Regions from separate parts of the Homo sapiens genome. Here regions 2, 3 and 4 are each linked to region 1. The links are contacts of gene promoters, found by promoter capture Hi-C in blood cells and fetal thymus (Javierre and others, 2016). All regions are on one chromosome and are shown on one strand. The core of a region is centred on a gene start or on the middle of the fragment in contact, and the rest is flanking DNA. Distances in the headings are between cores, read along the strand shown.

What was found. The method cuts DNA at HindIII sites, captures the fragments that hold promoters and counts their contacts. A CHiCAGO score of 5 or more calls a contact.
Region 2: a fragment that was not itself captured here is called in contact with the fragment with the promoter of ZDHHC5 in region 1 in 1 of 17 cell types (activated CD4 T cells); the score reaches 5.8 in activated CD4 T cells.
Region 3: a fragment that was not itself captured here is called in contact with the fragment with the promoter of ZDHHC5 in region 1 in 14 of 17 cell types (M1 macrophages, M0 macrophages, activated CD4 T cells and 11 more); the score reaches 13.3 in M1 macrophages.
Region 4: a fragment that was not itself captured here is called in contact with the fragment with the promoter of ZDHHC5 in region 1 in 1 of 17 cell types (fetal thymus); the score reaches 6.6 in fetal thymus.

The regions. Positions count from the first base shown.
Region 1 is chr11:57,665,128-57,670,030 of GRCh38, reverse strand. ZDHHC5 (zDHHC palmitoyltransferase 5) reads right to left here and starts at 1,917. Exons shown (of 12, transcript NM_015457.3): 1 at 1,844-1,917. RefSeq lists enhancers at 1,216-1,285, 839-1,476, 1,477-2,116, 2,286-2,865 and silencers at 1,396-1,595, 1,846-2,085. The HindIII fragment of the contact is 3,116 bases long and covers 1,327-4,442 here.
Region 2 is chr11:57,397,725-57,402,612 of GRCh38, reverse strand. No RefSeq gene overlaps it. Among named protein-coding and RNA genes, the nearest start is that of PRG2, 9.5 kb to the right of the region's middle. The HindIII fragment of the contact is 3,316 bases long and covers 148-3,463 here.
Region 3 is chr11:57,349,379-57,354,129 of GRCh38, reverse strand. It overlaps P2RX3 (purinergic receptor P2X 3), which reads right to left. Exons shown (of 12, transcript NM_002559.5): 7 at 4,232-4,373; 8 at 3,232-3,368. Among named protein-coding and RNA genes, the nearest start is that of P2RX3, 13 kb to the right of the region's middle. RefSeq lists an enhancer at 3,802-4,301. The HindIII fragment of the contact is 563 bases long and covers 1,901-2,463 here.
Region 4 is chr11:57,309,636-57,313,232 of GRCh38, reverse strand. TNKS1BP1 (tankyrase 1 binding protein 1) reads left to right here. Exons shown (of 12, transcript NM_033396.3): 5 at 1-699; 6 at 2,677-3,597. Among named protein-coding and RNA genes, the nearest start is that of TNKS1BP1, 14 kb to the left of the region's middle. RefSeq lists a silencer at 1,753-1,962. The HindIII fragment of the contact is 3,931 bases long and covers 1-3,451 here.

The DNA.
Region 1 (4,903 bases), core at 668-3,167:
TAGTAATACAGAGTCATGAAAGGCCATGCAATTTTGGGAGTATAATACTGGGAACACAAAAGAGAACAGCATCTGAGATGCTTGGGGGCTACACAGTAGAAGGGAAATCAAAAACCTAACAATTTATTGGGTATAAATAAAGATGAACCAATTCTTAGCAAAAGAATGTGCTGCAGATACTAGGATGAAACCACAAGGGTGAGTATGGTTCATCAGAGTCAACAGTTTGAATCCATACTAGTATCAAAAAAGTATACAAGAATATGTATGCCAGCTGGGCACGGGGGCTCACGCCTGTAATCCCAGCACTTTGGGAGGCCGAGGCGGGCGGATCATTTGAGGTCAGGAGTTCGAGACCAGCCTGGCCAACATACCAAAACCCTGTCTCTACTAAAAATACAAACAAATGAGCAGGGCGTGATGGGGCATGCCTGAAATCCCAGCTACTAGGGAGGCTGAGACACGAGAATCGCTTGAACCCGGGAGGTGGAAGTTGCAGTGAGCCAAGATAGCAGCCACTGCACTCCAGCCTGGGCGACAGAGCCAGACTCCGTCTCAAAAATGAGAAAAAAAGTAATATGTATGCCATATTGAGGCACAGAGTAAACTATGAAATGGAAATATGTATATGTAAAACAAACAATACAGGATATGTGGTTTGAAGGCTTTAATAAGGTTTAATACAGGTATTTCCTTAAATAGGTGGATACCAGCAGTACCAAGGACAACACAACTATTTTTTGTTGAAATAAGCGGTGTAACAGTACAATAGAGTAAATCTAAATGCACAGTAATGGAGGTACCATGGAATAATTCACATGTCAAGGTATGGGAGAAAGAGCCAAGAAGTTTAATGTGGGTGTTATCATTATATACCGAGGTAGCAAAATACATGGCAATATAATTTTGTAAACATTAAGTTTATACAATGGGTGATAATGAGCATTCTGAAGATATTTGATCCAGGACAGAGGTATACTGAGATAGAAGGATGATATGCAAATGTTAGATCAACTTGGTCAAGATGGCATTAACCAGGAAGTGAAGAATCCAAGGCAAAAAATAGTCTAGCGTATAACGTATATGTGATCCTACAACTGCCTTCCTAACTTTTAGCAACTTTCTTACTTCTTATTTCAGTGTTTCATTTGGCCAAGTGGGTAAAACACTTTCCACCTGCCTGCCCCAAATATAGGTAAAATATTGACAAACGCATTCGGGCTCCACTTTAAAAAGTACAAAGTACTAAACGCATGGAGCACTCGGCTGGTGGCGGTAGGAGGAGGAAGCGGACGGGTGAGAGAGAACAGGTAACAGGATGAAGCTTGAGCCAAAATAAGTATCAGCAGAGTGGAGCGAGGGACTCGAACCGCAGAGCGGTAAAAGGGAAACAGCACCCGGTCCCCACCACGGGACTGGGGAAAGGAGAATCACCCGTTGGGGCAGGGCTGACGACCGCTGAAACCGAAAAGAAGGAATCCACGGCGGCCAGGCCCACCGAGGTTGAGAGAGCGGGCTGCGGGGACCGCAGAGCCCGAGGGCGCAGGGCCGGGGGCGGAAGGGGCGGCGGCTGGGCGCCAGGCACCGGGGACCGCGGTCTCGAGCTGAGTGGCCGTCTCTAACCCGTTCCGAGCCCTGGCGGTCGTGGATCCCCGGCCTCTACTCGTCGTCCGTTTCCAAGGCCCATGGGTCCCGCCGCGGTTGGAAGACCCGGCCCGGAGGAGAAATAGGGCCTTAATACCCTCCCCGTCTTCGGTCCCCCTTCCCTAGAGGTCACCCTCCCCTCCCACCTCGCTGGTACGGCACTTCCGGTTCCGCAGGGACCGGTGTCCTCCGCACTCACCCGCGAGCCCGGTGCCCGTCACCACCGCCGTCGTTGTCACCGCCGCCTCCCGGCAGTGCCGTCCTGCCTCAGAGAAGCAGCGCGCGGCCCCCGCACGCTCCACGCCCGCCCCGCTGCCGCGCGCTCCCGCCAGGCGTCGCTCGTCTCGGAGCCGGCGCGCGGCCGTTGCCCTCAGTGCCGGGTCTCGAACCCTTCCAGCGTTCCCATTGGCTCCCTAGTCCGGGCTCGCGCGACGTCTCGCGCGGCGCACGTTTGTCTCATTCATGCGGCTCGCGCTGCCGCGCCCAACCCCGCTCACTCTCCCATTCACCCATAGCCCCCACCCCGACTCCGATCTGGGGCGTGCGCGCGAACCCTGGCGACCGCGGCGACCTCGCGGCCTGATTGGCTGCAGCAACACAACGACGTACGCACGCGAGAAGACGAGAGCGCGCACGTAAGGCCGTGGGGTTGCGGGGACAACTAAGAGACAAGGATTGGCCTAATGCACAGGAGTCAGGAATGAGGAAATGGCCAGGCGAGTCTTCCCTTCTCCTGCGTCCTGTTGTATTCCCACTGAATCCAAGCAAAAACCCCCGGAAATAAGAAAAGAATTATGTGTGTGTACTAGAAGTACTCAAAAGCAAGCAGCTACCTTCTCGAATTCAGCAACCCCTCTCCTACTGAGGTGGTACAGTCCAGACAGGCTTCCAGCGCAGCCAATTACCGACGACTATCGCCGCTTCCTGCTTCAGCCCCTTCGCGGCGGATTGGCCAACCATTTGGCGACTAGGCCTCCCTCTTCTCCTTCCCATCTCCTTTTTTTTTTTTTTTTTTTTTTTTGATGGCAAAAACTTTATTTAAAACAATCTTGCTGGAGAAATCTTCAGTCCGGCGAGGTCGCTGGTCCGGGCAGAATCCAGGGCGATGGAATGGTCTGGGCTGTGTCTCCCACATGAAGGGGACGCCCGGACTTGAAGAGCCAATGTAGGGCGAGGCTCCTGCCAAGGGCCGGGGAGGGAGATGAAGAAGAGCAGGCGCCAGCCTTGGAGCCGTAGCGCTAACCGTGAGAGGGAAGCCTAAGGAGCGCGCGACCTGAGGCGGTGGCAGCACCCTCCCGCCCCCGGAGTGCGAGCCGGGAAGTGAACTCCCTGAATTCCATTAGTTTCCCACTGTCACACGTGGGATGGGCGCCCGCATCCCTCACCTCACCCAATCCTAGAATACAAAGCTAAAAGCAAAAGGTTCTCTAGAATAGCTACTGTCCCTGGCGAGCTAACTCTGCATAGGTCATAGTGCTACGCTTTGCCCTGATTAGCCCAAGACAGCTGTGAACCCAATAGCAATGCCCCATGTTCTCTCCCCATTCGGCTCGAGGCTATTTCTTTTTTCGAAAGCAACTCTAGCTATTACATAATGGTCCCTCAAAAAGGTGTTTCACAAGCCACTTCCCTGAAGCCGAGGCCCCTCACCTGTAAAATCCTGAGGACTGTCCTCGGGTTTGGTCTCAAATGTTGCTGGCTTTACTGTGGTTCTGACACTAGCATTAGGCAGTAAGGTAAAAGAGAACTACCTTCTGTTTTCTGGAATCTAGTTCCTTCTCTGACATGGCATATATTATAAGTTCTAGTTTATTCTTGTTAACAGCGTCAATCCAGCATTTATTGCAACACACTTGAGAGTTCTTTATAACGACTTTATATTTTTAAAACAGACCTGGCCTGGCGTGGTGGTTCACACCTGTAATCCCAGCACTTTGGGAGGCCAAGGCAGGCGGATCACGAGGTCAGGTGCTCAAGACCAGCCTGGCCAACATAGTGAAACTCCCTCTACTAAAAATACAAAAATTAGTCGGGCATGGTCGGGGGAGCCTGTAATCCCAGCTACTCGGGAGGCTGAGGCAGGAGAATTGCTTCAACCCGGGAGGCAGAGGTTGCCGTGAGCCGAGACCACACAACTTCACTCCAGCCTGGGCAACAGAGCAAGACTCCGTCTCAAAACAAAACAAAAACCTCTTTAGACCATATGAAAGGTAAATTATTGAAGATACAATATTGATATTTTATTTTTTACTTTTTGAGAGGGAGTCTCACACTGTCACCCAGGCTGGAGTGCAGTGGCGCGATCTCAGCTCATGGCAACCTCCTCCCGGGTTCAAGCAATTCTCATGCCTCAGCCTCCTGAGTAGCTGGGATCACAGGCATGTGCCACCACACCTGGCTAATATTTGTATTTTTAGTAGAGATGGGGTTTCACCATGATGGCCACATTGGTCTGGAACTCCTGACCTCAAATGATCCTCCCACCTCGGCCTCCCAAAGTGCTGAGATTACCGGTGTGAGCCACAGTGCCCGGCCTGATATTGGCATTTTCTACCTGTAAGCCATGTTTCTTTAAGATGAAGTCAGCTTTCATTTTTCTGTTGCAATATTTTTCTTGGATTTTTAGACTTCCTGATTTCCTCCACAAATTAGGCATTTTTATTTTCCTTTCAGCTGTCTAAGAACTTGTAAATAGTGGTGTCTCTTGGCTAGACAGTGCTAAATGGAAAAAAAAAATCAGTCTTCCACCATCCAACCAAACTAAACTCCCCTGGGATACTAACTTGGATTGCCAAGCTTTGTTAGGTGGATGAGCACTAACAGAGGTATAATCACTATCCCAAAGTTGAAAGACAGAGATTCCACTTGTCCAGTTTTCCTTGGGATCACTCAAGATATTTCTTGGAAAGAACGTTTAATAGAACATATGGTTTAAAGTGCCAGCTACTTCTGAAAAGTATCCAGAGTAAAATCTAGGCTAAAACAGTATGATATCCAGACCACCCAAACTTTAAATTACTTTAATATGTTAATGGCTTCTCTCATCTGCGCATCTTTGTTCATCTTGCTCACCACACTCTTCGGCTGCCTGGACTTAGACCCTCAGTAGCATGGGCACCTAAGCACACAGAAAGCTAGAACATGCATTTCCCAATTTTTGTGTTTTTAGGGTTTCACCATGTTGGCCAGGGTAGTCTCCAACTGCTGAGCTCAAGTGATCTGCCTGCCTCGACCTCCCAAAGTGCTGGGATTACAGGTC
Region 2 (4,888 bases), core at 556-3,055, 270 kb after region 1:
CCTGCCACGTGGTTTTGTTTGTTTGTTTGTTTGTTTGTTTCAGATAGGGTCTCACTCTGTCACCCAGGCTGGAGTGTAGTGGCAAGATCATGGCTCACTGAAGCCTCGACCTCCCAGGCTCAAGCAGTCCTCCCCAAATTCAAAGCTTGGAGTGATGGTCCCAGTGGTTATGTCTAGGAGCCCTTTTTCCTGCCAGCCCCTCAGGGGATTGATGACTCTCAAATGCTTCAGGTGTGACATGGGCACAGCAGTGAGTCATTCCTCTGACATTCTTTGGGAAGAACATTTTCCATCCAGGCTTCCAGGCATAAGATCCAGTCCTCTGGTGATAAGGAGTTCACAGACAGGACAATGTCTGAGTGTATCTTAAACCCAGGACCATGGCTTGTGTTCACACCAGACCCTCCAGGGATTTTGAGGTGTTTTGTTTGTTTGTTTGTTTGTTTGTTTGTTTTTTGAGACAGAGTCTCTCTCTGTCGCCAGGCTGGAGTGCAGTGGCACGATCTCAGCTCACTGCAACCTTCGCCTCCCGGTTCAAGCGATTCTCCTGTCTCAGCCTCCTGAGTAGCTGGGACTACAGGTGTGCACCACCACACCCGGCTAATTTTTGTATTTTTAATAGAGACTGTGTTTCACCATGTTGGACAGGATGGTCTTGATCTCTTGACCTCGTGATCCTCCCGCCTCGGCCTCCCAAAATACTGGGATTACAGGCATGAGCCACCGTGGCCCGCCCAATTTTGAGTTTTTATGTTCTAATCCCAAACATCTGCTCACAGGCCCCTCAGCATATTCTTTCCTGGGTCCAGTGTCACCTCCCAGGCCTGCAGGCTGGCTAGAGCAGTAGGGTGTGTGGGAAAGCTCTGGGCTTTGCAGGCACTGATCAGCTGTGTGACCTTAACCACCCTGAACCTCAGTTTCCTCACCTGTAATGGAAATAGGTACCACGGCAGTTTGTTGCAAGGACTAGAGAGTAACCTTGGGAATAAAAGGTAGCAGCAGCTTGGGCTCTGGAGATGGACTGTCCAAGACCAACTTCCAGTTCCTCCCCACACAAGCTCTGGCACTTAGATTCCTGGTACCTCCGCTGCTTCATCTGTAAAATGGAGTAACAATAGGAATACTTTATAGAGTTGTAAGGATTGAGTGGCTGGATGAACGTCAAGCACTTCAAAGGGGACCTGGCATGTAGTGAGTGATCAATATAAACCACCTGGCTTGTAGCAGGTGTGCTGTGTGTGGCTGCAGGTGTTATTAGTAACATCTGTGTGCCCTTCAGAGCGTGCACCACACTTCACACCTTGTGGAGTCTGGAATGCCACTATTATAGTTCAGGATAGAAAACCTCCCTGCAAGCACTCGCTTTAGCTTGTCTCCACCGAACAAAACAACACAAGTTCTTTATTACTTGGAATGGGAAAACTTCAAAGGCAAAAAAAAAAAAAGACTTTCGAGTTACCCCAAATCTTAAGCCAAAGTCAATGAAAAATATCAATCTTCATATTCAATTTTTGCGATACTTTTGTCTCCCCAGCAGTCAATGGAGAGAATCCAAGCACACAGAAATGTCAATTACCAGGGGCAGGGCTATGAATTCCTTTCAGAGCCCTGGGCTGGGGAAGAGTGCAGGCAGACAGATCTGGGTCCTGTTATCACGTTCTTAGATTGGGTGTCCTTGTAGGAGTCATGAAGCATCTTAGTGCCTTTGTTTGCTACCTATAATGCCTACCTCAGAGAGTAATAAGGATAAGTAAGGCTCTACGTGAAAAGTGCTCGGCCCTGGCACATAGTAGGTCCTTCATTAATGGCAGCTACTAATTTTTATTACATACGCAAAATCACATTACAGGTCAAGTACGCTACATGACAGTGAAACAGTTTTTTTGTTTGTTTGTTTTGAGACAGAGTCTCGCTCTGTCACCCAGGCTGGAGTGCAGTGGCACGATCTTGGCTCACCGCAACTTCTGCCTTCAAGCAATTCTCCTGTCTCAGCCTCCCGAGTAGCTGGGATTACAGGCATGTGCCACCACGCCAGCTAATTTTTTTTGGTATTTTTAGTAGAGACGGGGTTTCACCATATTGGCCAGACTGGTCTCAAACTCCTGACCTTGTGATCTGCCCAACTCAGACTCCCAAAGTGCTGGGATTACTGGCATGAGCCACCGCACCTGGCTGTGAAACAGTTTTATTGTGTTTCTGTGGAATGTGTCCTACCCAACCTATAGCTAACTCCTATAGTTCCCTCAGTTCTCAGCTCAGATATCCCTTCCTTTCTGTACTGTTACCTAGTACTGGTTTTCATAGCACCAGGTACCTCTCTGGCATAGAGCTTGTCACAGTTGCAGTTTAATGTACCATCATAGGATTTTAAAAATATTCAGTTGTGTCTTCCATTAGGCTTTCATTTGGGAACTCCACGCAGGCAGCAGCTGTATATTTTGTATTGCCTACTGTATCCTGAGAACTTTGTACCCTACTTAGCACAGAATGGAGGCTCAGTAAATACTGGACATGAGAGAGAGAGAGAGAGAGAGAGGAGAGGGAGAGAGAGAGAGAGAGATTCAACCTACAATCCCAGCTCTGAGCTTCTAGTTCCCTGATGGTGAGGACTGTGATGTGTCTCACACGGTAATGAGCACTTATGCAGAAGAGGCTCAGAAAATTTCTCCTCATGGCCAACGGAAGACTTAGAGTTCTTTTCCAAGCTCCACCGTTTGCTGGCATGCAAAATTTGGACTATCACTTAAGTTTTCCAAGCCTTGCTTTTTCTATCCCTAACATAGGACAATATTCAGCATTGTTGTTTGTTTGTTGGGGGCACCATGTTTCAGGCACTTAGTAGATTATTGTACCACCACATTTCAATTGGTCCTCCTCAAGCCCTGCAACATCTGTGAGGTGGTCATCCTTAACAACTCACAGATGAGCAACAGGAGACTGGGGGGATGAGGGAACTGCCAAGGAGGTCCAGCTTATGGGCAGCAGAGCCAAGAATGGAACCAGGGTCTTTTATTTTTTTATTTTTTTATTTTTATTTTTTAACCAGGGTCTTTTAACATCCGAGGACCACATTCTTTGTGCTTTCCAAATCATCACCTGCCCCATGCAACTTACAGGGTAAGTTACATTAAACAACGTATGTAAATGGCTTTGTGCTAGTTATTCACCACCACAGGGGAAGTGAGTCACGGACAAGAGTGCAGCCGCTCCATTCGGATCCTGGCTCTGACACTTACCTGGAAAATGACTTAACCATTCCCAGGATCAGCTGTTTGTCTGTAATTTAGGTAGTTTAATGGCACTTGTGTCCTAGAGTTGTTTAGAAGGTTGAATAATATGGAGCACTTAACATACTTAGCACCTAGAAACACTTCCTAAATATTAGTTGCTGCTGTTGTTATCGTTATTAAAATTTCTGCCTAAGATCTCATTTCAGGGAGCCCAACTCAATCTTTGACAAGCTTAAACAAAAATTGCTTTTCTTCATTTATTCACTTACACAGCAAACATGAATTGAGCCTGTACTGTGTTTCCAGAACTGTGCAGGACCAGAGAGGCACAGGTGAAGGAAGCAAGGCTCTGGCTCTACTGGGGAAACAGCAAGAAGATTGCTACAATGAGGTGGGAAGAGGGCTGGACTAGAGAGAAGCCCTGATTAGTGTCCTTGCTACCTTTCTCTGGGAGAGCCAAGGCAGGCTTCCTGGAAGAGGTGATCCTTGGCTGAAACTTCGATGAAGAAAAGGAAAGAGCGCAGTGGTTAGGGAGGAAAGGGCATTCTGGGCAGATGAAATGACATGTGACAAAATATGGGTGATCATGGCATGTTAGGAAAATAGCAGGGTGTTCAACATGATTGGAGCACTGTGTGTGTGTGGTGAGGGGGAGAATTGAGGTTGTCAAGAAGTGGTTCTCAACTGAGCATAGTTTTGCCTCAGAGGGGACATTTGGTAATGTCTGCAGACATTTTTTGATTGTCACAGCCCAGCCGAGAAGGTACTACTAGTATCTTTTTGGTAGAGGCTAGAGAGGCTGCTAAACATCTAACAATGCACAGGACAGGCCTCTGTAACAAAAAAGTATCCAGTCAAAAATGTCCACAGTGTTGAGAGGTTTAGGTAAGTAGGCGCTAAAACATAAGGAGACTGTGCCTGAGAGCAAGAAGGAGTAATTGGAAAGTGCTGGTGTGATTAGCTCTGGGTTTTAGAAAGCTCATTTTGGCTGCTTGTAGACAGTGCATCAGAGGTGGAGGAGGGTGGTAAGACTGGAGGCAGGGAAAGTAATTTGGGAGCCACTGAAATGATCCAGGTGAAAAACGGTCAGCAGGTGACTAGGAAAGTGGCAGAGGCAATGGGGATGGGTGGCTGGATGAGATGGTGAAGAAAGCACTATAACTAACTAATGTGTGGATGATGGGCAGGAGGGGTGAAGGATGACCAGAGTCCTGCCTTGCAGGTCTAGTTGGAAGGTGATGGTTTCTCCTGAGAAAGTGACCACAAAAAGTGAAGCAGGTTTGTGCGTGTGTGTGTGTGTGTGTGTGTGTGTGTGTTGAGTTCAGTCTGAGATGTGTTGGACTCACAATGTCCATGGGACATCCAAGTGGAGAAGCATCTTGGGTGACCATATGTGTGAGTCTGCAGCTCAGAAACAGGCCTGGGGCTGGAGATGAAGACTTGGGAATGATCTGCGTATATATTTGGTAGCTTGAGCCACAAGAGTAGATGACATAACCCGTGGTGGGTGTGCAGAATTAGGAGAGACGTGCACCAAGAAGCCAGGTGATCCCCAATATTTAACCATCTGGAAGAATAAGAGGAGCCTGCCAACAGAAATTGGGAGGGAATGGCCACAAAGGCTACTGAGAAGGGAAGCAGTTCTTAAGAAGGGGGAA
Region 3 (4,751 bases), core at 933-3,432, 320 kb after region 1:
CTTTGCTTGCCACGGAGATCAGATATCCCCCAGTGTCAGGGTGATTACATGGGCCTGTAATCTCTTACATGGGTCCGTAAACTCCTTTAAATCACAAGGGTCACATTAGGAGTTGAGATCCAATGACCTTTGAGGCTACTCTAAGATGCCCCCTTTGGAACTTCCGCTTCCTCATCTGTAAAGTGACCGCCTTACTCTGGGTGACTGCAAGGGGAACTTCAACAGCTATAAATTCTCAAAATCTCTGATTCTGCAGGCAAAGAGCTACAAAAAATAGGGGCGGGGGGGGGGGAGTGACATTTGGAAGGGAGCTGCGAATGTAATTAGTGATGGAAATGTGAATCTCTAGCTGCCTCTGGATGTCTTAGTTAGCAGATTCAAACACGGCCGAATCTTGGCTGAATAATTCCATTCCCTCCAGAGCAAATGGCAACAGTAGGGGTGTTGAAAAATCTGCCTCTGTTGGAGGGAGCAGCAAATGAATTGTTTGGGAGACAAAAGGCCGGGCTATGAATTGTGCTGCCAGCATCTGCTAGTCTTGAAATCTCCTTGGAACTTAGATTCTTTGTTTTTAAGCTGGGATGAAAGTGTCAACCACATAGGCATGCTTTTTTTTCTGAGGATTAACAAGTACAAATGTCCCTAGTCTTCCTGGCTGGGGTGGAGATCATCCAAAGAAATATGTTTTGAATCCAGGCTCCCCCTCTTGCTTGCTTTGTGACTTTGAGAATGTTATTTAACAGTGAGACTCCATCTTCTCCTTTATAAAGTTGGGGGGGATATTGTAGCATCTACTTCGTAGGGCATGCAAGGAATGCTGAGCTGAAGCACACAAAACGTTTTGCACACAGGGTGACTAGTATGGTTTCTACTGATAAGTAGCTTGGTGAGATTCTAAAAAACAGCGTACATCTTACCATATCATAGAAAGTGCACTGTGACCCGCACTGAACCTGGCTTTGTGACCCTTTCTCTCTTATTCAAGCATTCAGAAAGACAGCTTTGCAGCCTCCCACACGTGGGCTCTTAGCTTAGCCTTGGGTGCCAGTAGTTTGAGGTTGCATGAGGGTGGTGGGTGGGCACCCAGGTGAAGGGATGGGAAGGGGCTTGGGCAGAGCCCTCTGCTTGCCACTGATATCAGATGTCCCCCAATGTCAGGGCTATTACTTGGGCCCTCTGGAAACTTTTAAATCACAAGGGTCAAACTAAGCAGCTTTGCCTCCTTCTTCTCTGGCCTGGGGGACTTTGTTGGGGGAGTCAATTATCTGAGATCCTAAGAGGGGGTGGTTTCTCTTAGGCCTCTGGGAATTATGCAGGCAGGGTCTTTGGGGATATTCCGTCCTGCCTCCCCAAATACCCTCCAAGCTTATTTAGGACCAGGTCTATCCCGCATCCTTCTGTGCTCAGGTGGGGAGGGAGGGAAGGCAGCCACAGTGCAATAAATTGGAGATAAAGAACTCCAGACCAATTCTTATTTAGATGAGAGATGCTGTTCTAAAACTGTACGATATCAGTAGTTGGGGGTCTTTATAATATTCACATTCTTCATAAGCTTTTCTGCCAAATGAGTTATTTGGAGGATTAAAGAATTCCCAATGGCCAAAGGGAAGTTATGAAGATGAAAACTTGCATTTTAGATCATGAGAATTTTATTAATATGTTACTATTTTAAGCCACCATACAAATATCCTTTGTATTGATCTCAGTGTGATATACCAACTGAATAAATATGCCAATTTCTGCCAGTGAGCCGCACAGTATTTTTAACCTACTTTAAAATATGTGTTGTTTCCTATGGTTTTTTTAAAGTTTGGAGTTGATGATGAAAGTACTTCAATTTTTAAAGATTCTTCTTTCCAGAGAATATACATGTATATTTTAAACTATTAAATATAAAGCTTAATGGGGTGGGTGATTATTTTTTTAAGTTATAAATTAACAATTTTAAAAGGTGAAATGATTATTTTTGGCTTACGTATGCCATTGTATCAGAGAATACCACCTCAACAAAGGAAATTTGAGTAACATTTATTTGAATATATTCAAATATACATTCTTATGTTCAAATGTAAATGAAATATATTCTTATGTATTTTTTTCCCCTGGTCACTCCCTATTTGTTCTATTTAAGCTGTTTAGTGTATAATGCTGTGTACTTAAACAGGGCCCTGCCAGAAACTTCAGGATCTTCAAAAACTGGGGGAAATCCACAATGTATACATGTATCAAAACATCACATTGTATCCCATATATATGCAATTGTTATTTATCAATTAAAAAGAAAACAAAACCTTTAATAAGTAGTGTTGACCTTGTAGTCTACACTTTGAGAACTGCTAACCTAAGATAACTGAGTACGGTCCTCAGCACGTAGTAGACAATTGGTATGTGTTTAATGGATGAATCAATAAATGAATGATTCAGAAAAAAAAGAAGAGAGAAACAAAACAGAAAGCTGAAGCTTTTCACACATTGGTTAATTGAATCCTGAAGATCACAGTGGTACTATCACAATTTCATAGGTGGGGAAATTAGGATGGGAGAAGACAAATGGCTTGTTCAAGCGCTTTCAGTTGCTTCCAAACAGTTTGTCCTCTAATTCCTCTCTCCCTTTCTTCAAAATGGAAAAACAAAACAAAACAAAACCCGAAAAGATCCCTGAAGTCTCAAAGCCATTGGGATGATATTTAAAGACTGGTCTGAGTTCTTGTTTGGAGAGGCATTGAAGAACCAGAGACAATTATAATTGCTACTGGTGACACACGTTTGCGGAGAGAAATGCAAAGTTGCCATCTTGTAAAATGTAAAATGATACCAGTTATCACCCTTACTTTGTAGAGCGAGAAACCTTAGAAAATTCAGGCCCAGGGCAGGGAATGGGCCTATCTGGAAGTCACTTAAGCACGTCACAGTTTCAGGCCAGTGTTAGGAACAGGCAAAGAATCGCAGAACCCTAGCATTTCAAGAGACCTTGGCCCTCTCTTCTAACTACTGACCTGCAGCAGGAATCCTTGGCGTGGTCCCCTTCAGTGATAAGGAGACACTGTCTCCCAGGACAACCAGCTAGATCCTAATGGCTGTTAGAGAGTCCTTCCTGATTTGAAATGAAACCTGAGGTGGGACTTGGGGCCAGGGGTGGGTGGATGGATGTGGGATCTTGTCTCCCCAATAAACATTGCCGTTAACAGCCCGCACCTTCTTCTCCTGGTGTCCCAGGAGACAGGGAATTACCTGAAGTTGTAGCCTGGGGACACGCTGCTTTTCTCAGAAACGCTGTCGAGCCGGGTGAAGGAGTATTTGGGGATGCACTGGTCCCAGGCCTTGTCCAAGTCGCACACCCAGCCGATCTTAATGCCCAGAACTCCCCCCTGAAGAAACGGGCCGGGTATGAGCTTTCCCCTCGCCCTCTGACTCCCTGCTCTGGGCCAGGGTGGGGGTGGGGTGGAGGTGGTGACAAATGATTTCCTCCCATCCTCCAGGTGGGAGACGGAGGCAGGGAGAACGGAAAGTGACATGTCATATACTGCTCAGTAAAGAAGTGCTGTGGTGGCCGGGTGCGGTGATTCACGCCTGTAATCCCAGCACTTTGGGAGGCCGAGGCGGGCGGATCACGAGGTCAGGAGATCGAGACCATCCTGGCTAACACGGCGAACCCCTGACTCTACTAAAAATACCAAAAATTAGCCGGGCTTGGTCCCAGCTACTCCGGAAGCTGAGGCAGGAGAATGGCGTGAACCTGGGAGGCGGAGGTTGCAGTGAGCCGAAATCGCGCCATGCACTCTAGCCTGGGAGACAGATCGAGACTCTGTCTCAAAAAAAAAAAAAAAAAAAAAGGTTGTGGCTCGGATGCGAACATTGGAGCCTCTGAGTCCTAATTTTGGGATCTTCAGTGCTTTAGCTACAACACAGGAGAAAGTGGCCACAGGTCTACTTTCCCGTCGTTTGGGGCTTATTACAGATCTAAGGCCTTTGCCTGAGGTGAAGTGTGAAGATGGGAGTGGGAAACTGAGGCTTGAGGAAGGTGGACTCGGCGGAGGCGGGGGGCAAGATCGCTCTGCGCGGGGAAAGCAGAAAGGATTCAGGCACAAAGCCAGTGGCGGCCTGGGATGCTTCCACCAGGTGGCGCTGTCTCGCGGCGGCTCCTGGCCAGTGCCGGCCAAAGGGCCCTGAAATCTGGGAAAGGGCTGAAGGTGGGGAGTTTGGGGTCGCGGAAGAATGGCTAGGTCCTCACCGTGCGCGCCAGTTTGGCAAAATCCTGCCCCGCAAACTTGACCACGTCCCCTACCCGCAAGATGGGGCAGAAAGGGTCCTTGTCCGGGTGGAAGCGGCAGGTCTTCATGTCCCTGGCTGTCAGGTTGGGAAGGAGGTTTCCCCTGGGGAGGAGCAGAGAGAGAGGTCAGCCCAGGGTTCATGGGAAGATCGTCTTGTGCAATCTCTCCCCGCCTTCCGGAGCCCAGGCCTAGGGGGGATCTGAGCCCTCAGCCTTCATCTGGACCTCGCCATCTCCCTCCCCTCTTTCCTTTCCCTGCATCTTTCTGGTGCCCCATCACCGCCTTCCCTGTGTATCAGGGTGATGTATGTCGGTGACTAATCTCCAGCTGCCAGGCTGGGAGTTCGAGAGGGCAGGAATCATTCTTGGTTACTCTGTGCATTTTTTTTTTTTTGAGACGGAGTCTCGGTCTGTTGCCCAGGCTGGAGCGCGGTGGCATGATCTCGGCTCACTGCAACCTCTGCCTCCCAGGTTCAAGCGA
Region 4 (3,597 bases), core at 237-2,736, 360 kb after region 1:
GGTCTGGGCGTGTGGCGGCTGGACTCCCCGCCTCCCTCCCCCATCACTGAAGCCAGTGAGGCCGCCGAGGCTGCTGAGGCTGGCAACTTGGCCGTTTCCAGCAGGGAAGAAGGAGTGTCTCAGCAGGGGCAAGGGGCTGGGTCAGCTCCAAGTGGGTCAGGAAGTTCCTGGGTGCAGGGGGATGATCCAAGCATGTCCCTCACCCAGAAGGGCGATGGGGAGAGTCAACCTCAATTCCCAGCTGTTCCCCTTGAGCCCCTGCCTACAACTGAGGGCACACCTGGATTACCTTTGCAGCAGGCAGAGGAGAGATACGAGTCGCAGGAGCCCTTGGCTGGACAGGAGTCCCCTCTCCCCCTGGCTACCAGGGAGGCAGCCTTGCCCATCCTGGAGCCAGTCCTGGGGCAGGAGCAGCCAGCAGCCCCTGACCAGCCCTGTGTTCTCTTTGCTGATGCCCCTGAGCCTGGACAGGCACTGCCTGTTGAGGAGGAGGCCGTGACCCTAGCCCGGGCTGAGACCACCCAAGCCAGGACAGAGGCTCAAGACTTGTGTAGGGCATCCCCCGAGCCTCCAGGCCCTGAAAGCAGCTCCCGCTGGCTGGACGACCTCCTGGCTTCACCACCACCCAGTGGTGGCGGTGCAAGGCGGGGAGCTGGAGCTGAGCTGAAGGACACACAGTCCCCAAGTACCTGCTCTGAGGTGAGAATGGGCATAGGGAGAATGGGACTTCTGGGGACAGAGGCCAGGGCTTGGGTGGGCTTCATTCTTTGAACATGGATTTTACATGTCGAGAGCTTGGGCTGTGGTAGTGAGCAAGGCAGCTGTGGACCTGCAGATTGTAGCTCTGCAGAGCCACACAGGACGGTGTGTGTGTGGGGTTTCGTGTGAGGCTCTATCCCAGCTCCAGCAATCGCTAGCTGATTGGTCTTGGGAAGAACGTACCTTAACTGCTGGGCTTCAGAGTGCTTTCCTGATAGTAGCATTGGCCTCTTAGAGTTATATTGTGGGTAAATCGAGGTGGAAAGCTCTCGGCACAGTGCGTGGCAGGTGCTGAGTATTCAGTCTCTCATTATGGGAATATCGTTCAAGGCAAAATAGTGTAGCCATTTAGAGCGTGGGCTCCTGGGTTCATCTCCTGGCTCTGCTTTCCTTTGCCCAGGTGTGACCTTAAAAGAGTGACTTTTCTGCCCTCTGCCTCAGTTTCCACATCTGTAAAATGTGGATAACAAGATGAGTTCTACCTCCAAGGGTGTTGGCAAGGGTTCAATGAGCTGTAATGTCTAAAGTGCTAAGAATAGTGCCTGGCTCATCCTAAGTGCTTAAGAAGTGTTGGCTTTTACAAACGTTATTAACATTGAGCTCCAGACCTGCTTTGTAGACAGGCAGCTGGGCCTCAGAGGAGGTTAGCCTTGTGCAGTTATCCAGCAAGTTGGTGGCTGGGCCCGGGCCAGCGCCGTTTCCCGGCCCAGTGCCCTTTCTCCTACCAGGCTGCCTCTGAATTTAAGGGCCGGGGGCCAGGTGGCTTTCGAAATTTATTTCTCAAGCCGGGCCTGGGCTGCAAGGGGCGGGGCTGCAGGAAAGGAGGAGCCAGGGGGCCTCTGGGGGCTGCGGGGCGGGGAGAAGGAGGAGCAGGAAGGGGTTAAGCTGACTCCTGTAGTAGGTGTGTCTGTCCCGGGATGTGGGTGACTCAACTGGCTCCTGGGCGGGGCTGCCCAAGCTGCAGCTGCTCCGGAGGGAGCAGGGCCAGGGTGAGGGAGAGCCAGCGCCAGAGCCGTCGGACAGGTCCCAGCGCGGGTAGCAGCCCAGCTCTATCCCTGCGCCCGGCTGGCCGCACCCAGCAGCCCCAAGGCGGGTTGGGGGCGGGGGGCCATGGCCCAGCCTGGGGATGGGGAGGCCAGCATGTCTATCCTGGAGCGGCTGCTGGCCAACGCTGCGCTGAGGGATGAGGCTGGCCGGCTCCGAAGCCCTGAGCCCAGGGCTCTCCCGCCCACAAGGGTGAGTCAGGGAGCGTGAGGTGGGGGGTGGGGTGCAAGAAGCCCTGGCTGGGATTTTCCCCTGTGCCAGAGGCTGCCCCTCTTGTCTTTCCTGGGCCAGGGTGAGGGCTGAGAGGTCTTCCTGGGGAAGATTGAGCAGACGGCACTTTGGCTGGGGAAGAAGGGCCTGGGTACTTATAGGAGGATGGGGGTCAGATGGGGCATGGGGGAGGACGGGCTGGAAAAGCTGTCATTGGTGTTGGAACCTTGCCTTGCAAGGGAAGTCGCAGAGAGGCTTTGAATCTTGACCTCTCCTAATCAAAAGGAAAGTGCACTGCCTGCCATTCCTGTGTGAAGACCACTCCTCTCCTGGCTGTTAGCCAAGTATTGCCCAAGAGTTGTAAACATGACCATGGGACCATCGATTGAGTGCCCACTGCATGCCAAGCACTATGCTGAGTGCTTGGTCTAAATGATCTCATTTAATCCTCTCACACCAGCCCCATGCAATAGGAATTATCCTCGTTTAAGGATGAGGACGCTGAGACCCAGAGTGGTTAAGTGATTTGCTCAAGGTCACACAGCTTTCTGTTGCCAAAGTGGGGCTTTCAGGCACTAGGCAGCGCTGACTCTGCTGGATTGACTCCCACCCTGATGGAATCTAATCGTTGTTTCTTTGTCTGTTTTTTTTTCTTATTCCCAGGGACTCCTTGGCTGGTCCCAGAAAGATCTGCAGAGTGAATTTGGGATCACAGGAGACCCACAGCCCAGCAGTTTCAGTCCTTCCAGCTGGTGTCAAGGTGCTTCTCAGGACTATGGCCTTGGGGGTGCAAGCCCTAGAGGAGACCCAGGTCTCGGAGAGAGGGACTGGACCAGCAAGTATGGGCAAGGAGCAGGGGAAGGGAGCACCAGGGAGTGGGCCAGCAGGTGTGGCATCGGCCAGGAGGAGATGGAGGCCAGCAGCAGCCAAGACCAGAGTAAAGTGTCTGCCCCAGGGGTGCTCACAGCCCAGGACCGGGTAGTTGGAAAGCCAGCCCAGCTTGGCACTCAGCGGAGCCAGGAGGCAGATGTTCAGGACTGGGAGTTCAGAAAGAGGGATTCCCAGGGCACTTACTCCAGCCGGGATGCAGAACTCCAGGACCAGGAATTCGGAAAGAGAGATTCACTGGGTACCTACAGTAGTCGAGATGTAAGCCTTGGGGACTGGGAATTTGGGAAGAGAGATTCTCTGGGTGCTTATGCCAGCCAAGATGCCAACGAGCAGGGCCAAGATTTGGGGAAGAGGGACCACCATGGTAGGTACAGCAGCCAGGATGCCGATGAGCAGGACTGGGAGTTTCAGAAGAGAGATGTGTCACTCGGCACCTATGGCAGCCGGGCTGCGGAGCCACAGGAACAGGAGTTTGGGAAGAGCGCTTGGATAAGGGACTACAGCAGTGGTGGCAGCTCCAGGACCCTTGACGCCCAGGACAGAAGCTTTGGAACGAGACCCCTGAGCTCTGGGTTCAGCCCCGAGGAAGCCCAGCAACAGGATGAGGAATTTGAGAAGAAGATTCCAAGTGTGGAAGACAGCCTTGGAGAGGGCAGCAGGGATGCTGGCCGGCCAGGAGAGAGAGGATCCGGG